2 separate regions of the Homo sapiens genome follow, and region 2 is linked to region 1. Evidence: promoter capture Hi-C in human tissues and cell types (Jung and others, 2019). All regions are on one chromosome and are shown on one strand. Each heading gives the region's core, a stretch centred on a gene start or on the middle of the fragment in contact. The rest is flanking DNA. Distances are from core to core; before and after follow the strand shown.

The links. Contacts are between HindIII fragments. The study calls those that stand out against the background at their distance.
Region 2: a contact is called between a fragment that was not itself captured here and the fragment with the promoter of SYNGR1 in region 1, in 3 of the 25 tissues and cell types used here (heart right ventricle, lymphoblastoid cells and mesendoderm cells).

What each region holds. Positions count from the first base shown.
Region 1 is chr22:39,347,719-39,351,275 of GRCh38, reverse strand. SYNGR1 (synaptogyrin 1) reads right to left here and starts at 1,285. Exons shown (of 4, transcript NM_004711.5): 1 at 1,167-1,285. The coding sequence starts at 1,265. RefSeq lists a silencer at 1,079-1,238. The HindIII fragment of the contact is 13,153 bases long and covers 1-3,557 here.
Region 2 is chr22:38,966,114-38,971,169 of GRCh38, reverse strand. It overlaps LOC105373033 (a long non-coding RNA gene), which reads left to right and starts at 3,317. Exons shown (of 3, transcript XR_007068099.1): 1 at 3,317-4,196. LOC124905118 (a long non-coding RNA gene) reads left to right here and starts at 1,803. Exons shown (of 3, transcript XR_007068101.1): 1 at 1,803-1,930; 2 at 2,325-2,382; 3 at 2,571-3,057. RefSeq lists an enhancer at 4,566-5,056. The HindIII fragment of the contact is 5,262 bases long and covers 239-5,056 here.

The DNA.
Region 1 (3,557 bases), core at 36-2,535:
CTTGGGCACCCTGAGGTCACAGCTGGCCTTGGGGTAGCCCCTGGGGTCCCTGACAGTCTAGCCCATTCCTAGTCTAAGCCCACAAGGAACGGGCCCCAGGCCTGCAGAGGCCAGAACCTCGAGTGGGAGTTTCTGGGATACAGCCAGCCAAACCCAGGGAGCCCCAGAAACCCCCTCTCCAGACCCCAGCAGGGCTTCTTTCCATGAGGTGCCACTCAAGGCACCTGAACCCCTCCCTCTGTGCTCACTGTCTCTGACCCATCCTCTCCCTGACCACCCGTCTGAACAAGAGCCCACTCAGCCCTCTGCACTGAGGACCCTGCCCCCCAGCTAGGCTGGAGGCCACCCTGGCCTCTTCACTGTGGGAGCAGACCTTTCTCCCAGACACCCGCCTTGGGCATCCAGGTGCATGCTGAGTGGGAGGGGTGTTACCGGTTCATGAAATGTCAGAGCCCAAGGGGGCCTCAAGAAGGCTCCGCCCACCTTGTCTATAAATTGGGAAACTGAGGCATGAGAGAGGAGATGACACTCCCCACCTCGGAATTGAAGTCCTCATTTCTCGAGAACATTTCCTGGGTGGCTCCCAGCCCAAGGTCACGCAGAGAAGGAGAGGCAGTTCCCGGGTGGAAGAGAGGTACTCAGTTCCCGACTCATCGCTCCACACGGGCCGGGCTAGGCAATACGAACCCGGTTCCCGGCCCTCTCCTCCTCCAACGTCCATCGCAGGCGCGGCATGCACCCCACCGAGATGGTCCACGCCCTGATCCACCCCCCAAAAAAGGCCACCTTAAACCCTGGCTCCGTCCCCACGGTCCCCAGTCCGCCCTGGCGGCCGCGCACAATCCGAGCCTTTCGCGGCATAGCCGCGGCCTGGAGGTCACAGCAATCGGGGCGGGAAGGGGGGCGCACGAACCGGGGGCCCCAGGAAACCAGGGCTCCGGGAGCCGGAGCGGCGTCTCCCGCGAGCACCAGGGATCCCGCCCGCCCCGGGCCCGGGAAGGAGGAGCGGCGGCAGCGGGCCCCGCAGGCAGGACAGCTCCTCGCCCGCCGCCGCGCCGCCGCCGGGGGCCCGTTGGGGTCGGGGTCGGGGTCGGTCCGGGCGCGCCGCCTTTGCTCACACCCCCACCACCCCGGCCTGGCAGAGCCGTCGGCCAGTCCGTCCTTACCCAAGACACGACGCGCAGGATGGTGTGCGGCTGCCGGACCAGGGTGTAGGGGTCGAAGGCGCCCCCGGCTTTGCCCGCTCCGTACGCACCCCCTTCCATCGTGGCTGCACCCGCGCGGTGCCCCCCGCTCGGCGCGCGCCGCCGGCCCGTGCGCGTGCGCGGCGCCCCCGCCCCCTCCCCTGCGCGCGCGGCCGGCGGCCCAGGGCTCCCGCGAGGGGGCGTCGTGCGCGGCGGGCGCAGCTCGCGGGGCGCGGGCGGGGGGCTGGGCAGCGCGCGACCTCGGGCGCGGGGGCGCGCGTGCTGCGGCCCGGGGCTCAGGGCGCGCTCGCAGCCAGTGCGGTGACCTCTTTGCAAAGTGTTTGGGGGAGGGCGGTGCGTGCACAGCAAGTGTGGGCCGTGTCCCTGCCCCGCATCCCCGGTCCCCTGCCCCGGTCGCAGCCCCTCTGAGCCGTCGGCTCTGCTGAAACCATCTTCACGCTTGATTTGTTTGGCTGTTTCCTGCCACTTTGTCGGCCCCAAATATAATGAGAGGGCAGGAGCTGTGTTCGTCCTTCTTAGAGGGTGCTTGGTACGCAGTAGGCGCCGCATGAATATTTCTCGAATGAATGAACCACGAGTGAATGACCCTCTCTTACAGCCCTCCAGAGCAGCCCCCACCTCCCAGGACCACCCTTCCCCTGCCTCTTACGATGACGTCATGTGTGTCCCTGTGCCCGCGCACCCTCCCACCCCCAGCCTGGAGGGGCCTGGCACAGAGGCGGCGGCTGAGACTTCCTCTTCCCCATCCCCTCCTACCCCAGAACGTTGCCCCTTTCCTGAATCTAGCAATTAATTACGCAATCATTTGTTCATGGCCTCTTCTGCTGCTAGTCTGTGAGCTCCCGAGGCCCAGGTGTTGTCTAACTTATTCAATGCCTTACCCAAGGGCCTAGCATACAGTAGGTGCTCAGTAAACAGAGCCTAGTCCCCATCACCCCATCACAGCTTGGGCTAGACCTCCAGGTTTCATGGAAACGGAGGCTAGATGGAGGAGTGCTCCCTGCAGGGGAAGGGCCACCTTCCAGGGCTGGCTCTCCTGCTGCCCTGTAGCTCTATGGCCTCTCTATGTCTGCAGTCACCTTCACTGGTTCCAGGAGCAGGTTGGATGAGGATATGGGTGGAGGCTTTTGCTTCTCTGGTATCCTGCCATTCTGTGATGACAGGACACAACATCTGTGTGGAGGAAATGTGTGCTGGGCCTGAGGGTGCTCCTTATAAAAATTACATAGTCAATGTCCATCTTAGGCTCAGCTGATTGTTTAGTCTCTACCAGGCCTTGTGCTAAGGGCTTTACATACATTTTCACATTTAATCCAGCACACTTATAAGGTGTCTACTATGACTATATAAAACTTTTAGAAGAAAGCACAAGAGAAGGCCGGGCGCAGTGGTTCACGCCTGTAATCCCAGCACCTTGGGAGGCCAAGGTGGATGGATCACAAGGTCAAGTGATTGAGACCATCCTGGCCAACATGGTGAACCCGGTCTCTACTAAAAATACAAAAATTAGCCGGGCGTGGTGGCGAGCTCCTGTAGTCCCAGCTACTTGGGAGGCTGAGGCAGGAGAATCACTTGAACCCAGGAGGTGGAGGTTGCAGTGAGCCGAGATCGCGCCACAGCACTCCAGCCTGGCAACAGAGCGAGACTCCGTCTCAAAAAAAAAAAAAAAAAAAAAAAATCATGAAGAACATGATTCATAAAAGAAACAATTGATAAACTGGACTTTATCAAAATTAAGAACTTCTGTTCTTTAAAAGACATTGTTAAAAGAATGTATGAAAAGACAAACGATAGTCTGGGAGAAAATATTTGCAAAGCATAGATCTAAAGAACTTGCATCCCAAATAAAGAACGTTCGAACTCAATAATAATAAGAGGACCCACTTTTTAAAAAATGGGCAAAAGATTTGAATAGTTATACACCTCACCAAAGAAGATATACACACGGCAACTCAGCACATAAAAAGATGCCCAGCATCCGCGGTGGCTCACGCCTATAATCCCAGCACTTTGGGAGGCCGAGACGGGCAGATCATGAGGTCAGGAGATTGAGACCATCCTGGCTAACACGGTGAAACCTCATCTCTAGTAAAAATACAAAAAAAAAAAAAAAAAAATTAGCCGGGTGTAGTGGCTGTAGTCCCAGCTACTCGGGAGGCTGAAGCAGGAGAATGGCGTGAACCCGGGAGGCGGAGCTTGCAGTGAGCCGAGATCGCGCCACTGCACTCCAGCCTGGGCGACAGAACGAGACTCTGTCTCAAAAAAAAAAAAAAAAAAAAAAAAAGAAAGAAAGAAAGAAAAGAAAAGATGCCCAACATCATTAGTCAGAAATACAAGCTGGGTGTGATGTGG
Region 2 (5,056 bases), core at 1,620-4,119, 380 kb after region 1:
TTCTTTACCCATTTATTTTGAAACGTGTATTTTGGCCGCAGCACCCAGAATCTGACTCCTCCACCTTGGTCGTCATGGAAAGCTCATCTCTGGTGGCAGTGTTATCATTCTGTCAATTACTCAAGAGCCCAATACAAACAGGTATCACAGAGGATGTGACTGTCCACTCTGTGTACCTCCTAGCCCACTCCTTGGGGCTAATGAATAATTTGTGTATTACCATCCACCGTTTTCTCATTCCTTTATACTGTTTTTAATCATTCATTTTTTTTCTTTCAACAATTGTAAATGGATTCCTACCCAGGGGGCAAGGCTGGCTGCCAGCACTGCCGTCGAGGCATGGGCAGGAAGCAGTGGACTCTGACCTCAGTGCGTTTATGGGAAGTGGAGGCAGATGGTCAAGAAATGAGAATCTACACACAGGGAAGATAAATCTGGTTTGTAACAAGGGCGGTGCAGGAAATAGACATGGAGATGGGGCAGAAGGGAACTGTGTGGGCAGCTCGCTTTAAGAGGCCAGGGGAGGTGACTTGGGAACTGAATCCTGAGGGAGAGAAGGGATAGCAGTGGGAAGAGCCGAGGGAAGCTTTGTCCAGAGAGAGGGAATGGCAGGTGCCGTGGTCTGAGGCGAGAGAGGGCTGGGTGACCTGGACTAGAACAGACACCAGCCAGACAGCATAGAAAACAAGTAGAGGAGCTGGGCGCGGTGGCTCACACCTGTAATCCCAGCACTTTGGGAGGCTGAGGCGGACAGATCACCTGAGGTCGGGAGTTCGAGACCAGCCTGACCAACATGGAGAAACCCTGTCTCTACTAAAAATACAAAATTAGTTGGTCATGGTGGTGCATTCCTATAATCCCAGCTACTCGGAGGCTGAGACAGGAGAATCACTTGAACCCAGGATGTGGAGGTTGTGGTTAGCCAAGATTGTGCCATTGCACTCCAGCCTGGGCAACAACAGAGAAACTCCGTCTTAAAAAAAAAAAAAAAAAAAGTAGAGGGTGACAAAGCTGGCACGGGAGGAGGGAGTCTCATGGGTCATTGGGAAAAATGTAAATTTCTTTTTTTTTTTTTTTTTTTGAGACAGAGTCTTGCTCTGTCCCCCAGGCTGGATTGCAGTGGTGCCATCTCGGCTCACTGCAACCTCTGCCTCCCAGCTTCAAGCGAGTCTCCTGCCTTAGCCTCCTGAGTAGCTGGGATTACAGGCGCCTGCTACCATGCCCAGCTAAGTTTTGTATTTTTAATAGAGACACAGTTTCACCATGTTGGCCAGGCTGGTCTCCAACTCCCGACCTCAAGCGATCCACTCGCCTCGGCCTCCCAAAATGCTGGGATTACAGGTGTGAGCCACCGCACTCGGCCTCGATTTCATTTTAAAAGACAACAACTGGGTGTACCCTCCCGCATGTGCCCACATGCACGTGCACATGCATACATGGGTGTGTGAGCCTACATGCATGTGTACATGTGCATATCCATGTGTGGTTGGGGTAGGGGTTGTTTCATGTCACCAAACAGTGACATGACCTGGTTTTTCTTTTGAAGAGTCACTCCAGAGCTGGGCCAGGTGGCTGATGCCAGTAATCCTGGCACTATGGGAGGTCAAGGATGGAGGATTGCTTGAGACCAGGAGTTTGAAGACCAGCCTGGGCAACATAGCAAGACCCTGTCTCTACAAAAAATTCCCCAGGCATGGTGGCATGGTCCTGTTGTCCCAGCTACTCAGGAGGCTGAGATTGGAGGATTGCCTGAGCTCAGGAGTTCGAGGCTGCAGTGAGATATGATCACGCTGCAGCACTCCAGCCTGGGTGACAGAGACAGAGCTTATCTCTAAAAAAAGAAAAAAACAAAGTCACTCCAGTAGCTGCATGCAAAGGGAATGGGAGCTGAGCTGGTGAACCGGAGACTGTCAGACATCCCAGGCGACAGGTGACAGTGATGGCAGTCAGGGTACATTGGGGGTGAATTGTGGGGATGAATTCAGCCAGAGTGAGTTACTAATTAGATATGGAAGTGAGAGGAAGGGGAGGAAGCAGCGTTTTGGGGTTGAAACAGCTGGGCGAATGAAAGGGAAGGTGGGCAAAAGAAACATTCAGGATTAAGACCAAGACTTCTAATGTGGCATTGTCAAATTCAAGGCGGCGTGGCAGGGGGGCCACCGGGGCCGAGGGGAGCTGTGATCATATGGGAGAGGAGTGCAAAGCCCACAACCTGGGTGATACCTCCCAGGACCGGGGCTGACCGGGGCTGCTCTAACGTCTTTCTTTCTTTTCTTTAATTTTACATTTTAATTTAAATTATATACATGAACACGGCAATGAAGGATACCACAACAGTCCTGTGTTCTGCCAAACAAGCAACGACCATGCTTCTCTAGCCAGGTGGGCCACCTCAGGACTCTTGGGCAGGAAGCACCTACTGGGCCTTGCAGGCCTCTCCCAGCCCCGCTCTGTGCACCCTACATAACCCTAATGAGCCTGGCCTTAGGGAAATCTCAGTGCTGCCTATGGTTTTGCATAGACACCGGTGTGAATCTGGGCTCTACCACTTACCCTCTGTGTGTTCACAGGAAAAGGAAAGAATGGCTTTTCCTCGTAGCACGGTGGTGTCGGGAGCAACTCCCTATTCCCAATATTGGGTAAGATAGGGTTGGATTGGGCGCGAAAAGAGCTTAGCCCAGAGGGGAGACATGGTGCATTTGCCAGAAATGGTGGGTGCCACTCTAAAGGTGGGTGAGGAGAATCTTCTCTCCAACCGTCTTCGCCCCCTGGGCACAGTGCCATCACCTGGGATTTGCTGCCCCCCTGCACACCTGCCCCAGGAGCAGGAGGAGACTCAATAGATAGCATCAGACTAGAGACTGGGGCTGGGAACAGGGCTGGGAGCCTAGAGCAGAAGCCAGGTCCAGAGAGGGTTAAGGGGAGAGGACAGTCCCCAAGGGAACCAGAAGGAGCCCCTGGAGGGCAGGAGGCAAGTGACCATCACCAAGGAACCCGAGGAGGAGGCTCAGGAGCAGAGGCTTCGAGAGGCTGCAGGACTGGCTGTCAGCACCGTGTTAGCCATTAGCCATCATGTCCTAGTCCCTTCACGGTTCCTAGGTCAGGGTCCTCCTGCTTCTGTGACGGTCACAGCATGTGCTCCTGTGGTCCTCCTCTGGTTGCTCTTAGGACACAGGAGGCTTACATCACTTCAGAGTGACCGCAAGCTGCTGGGTCAGCAATGACCTGCCCCACCCCTTCCTGAACTCAGGTCCCCTGTGCCACCCACATCAGTGTCACAGAATAAGGAAGTTCTCTGCTGTGTCTTCCCACAAGCATTGGTTTTGATTTCCCTGCTCTGACAATAGCCCTACAGGGATGCTGTGGAGTGACAATGAGGAAAGCGAGCCTTGGCCACACTTCAGTCACTTTGGGCAGCAGGGACCAGGAAGGCAGGAGGCCAGGGGACAGGCAGGAGGACAGGTATCCACACCCTGGAGAAAGGTCTCGAATAAGACTCAGCGCCCCCAGAGAGTAGGCTCCAGAGCAGCCGACCCTACGTCCCCTACTATAGCCAGCACAGGGCATGCCTGCTGCATCCAGGGCCCTGCAGGGCGTGCAGTGCAGAGAGCAGAGTGTGTCCTGGGTCTTGATCCCAGGCCCTGGGAAGGGAAGGAGACAGACATGCTGAGCCCTTGTTTGTGTCAGTCCATCTAATTACGGCAAACTAGAGCAAGGGGTGCTTTCATCCCCATTACTCCTCTAGAGGAGATACGAGAGGCTCTGAAAGGTACCTAGACTTGCCCAGGCCCTCCCAGTGAGCAGAGTGATGCAGGGACACAAATGCCCTCAGAAGGCTCACCCTGTGCCCTTTCTCCCACCTCCAGCCCTGCAGAAATGTGTGGGAAGCTGTGCTCCTGCCCCAAGTGAGCCCCTGAGTCCCAACGGCAGGTCTGGCGCCATCCTTTCCCAGGTCCACCTACTGCACCCAGCACAGCTGCCCGAAGAATGCACTGGCCCTGTGGGCCTGGGGGCTGCCCCCTGTCCTGCTGATTCCCCTGTCTTGGCTCCTCTTAGACCCCCCATCCTTGGCCAGCTGTCTCATGCAAGAGAGTCCACATCCTGGGGACAGTCCCACCCTGGCCACCCGGACCAAGCACAGCTCCTCGCCCTCCCAGCCTGGCCGGTGCTCGCTGAGGTGGAAACCTCAGAAGAAGGTGGGAGTGATCCACCCTCCTCAGCACAGTGTCCCTGCCATCTTGGTGGGCACCACTCCTCATGGGCAGACCAGAGGAGGCCCTGTTCTCTGCCATGAGGATGCCACCTCCCATTCTGTCTCCAGACCTTGGACTTCTCTAGTCAAGAGGATATCCCCTGGGGGCTGTCAACTCCCAATTGAGTCTCGGGTGGTTCCGGTGTGAGCTCATCTTGGTGTGTTGTGTGAGTCTGACCAGAGACCACCTTTCCCAGTTCACACTCGAGGCACACACAGCATGGTGCCCTGCAGTACCCACTGCCCACCTGCACAGAGACTGCACCTGTACCAGCAGACACGAATGGGCTGTTGTCCCTGCTTGTGCCCCCCACAGGCCTGCCCTTCCAGGAGGGGGTGTCGTCCTGACCCAGCCAGCTCTACTCCCAGCCCCAAATGTTTCGTCACTCAGCCCTACAAAGTGCTTCTGAATCCACCGAGGGCATGATAAGGCTCTCCTTAGCACAGAGCTCTGAGTTAGAGTGGGGGTGGGGCACAAAGAGTCTGGGGTTCCTGCTATGCAGACCCTGTGCCCTGCAGGACCCTCGGAGGGCAGAGCCCTTGCCCTCCCCCAACTCTTCCTGTGTGGCTGCTGCTTCCCAGAGCAATGGCCTCTTACCGGAGCAAATGTGCCTGGGTCGCCAGTGGCCACGACAGCCCTCACTGAGCTTTCTGTGGGGAGACCCGGGAAAGCTGCACGCAGGGGACAGTGCTTTGCTGGGCATCCCCAGGGGCGTCTCCTGCCTGTCTTTGACTCCTCAGTCTCTGATTCTGGGGTCTGCAGGACTGTCCTGGGGCCCGGGACCCAGCCTCAGCCAGGATCCA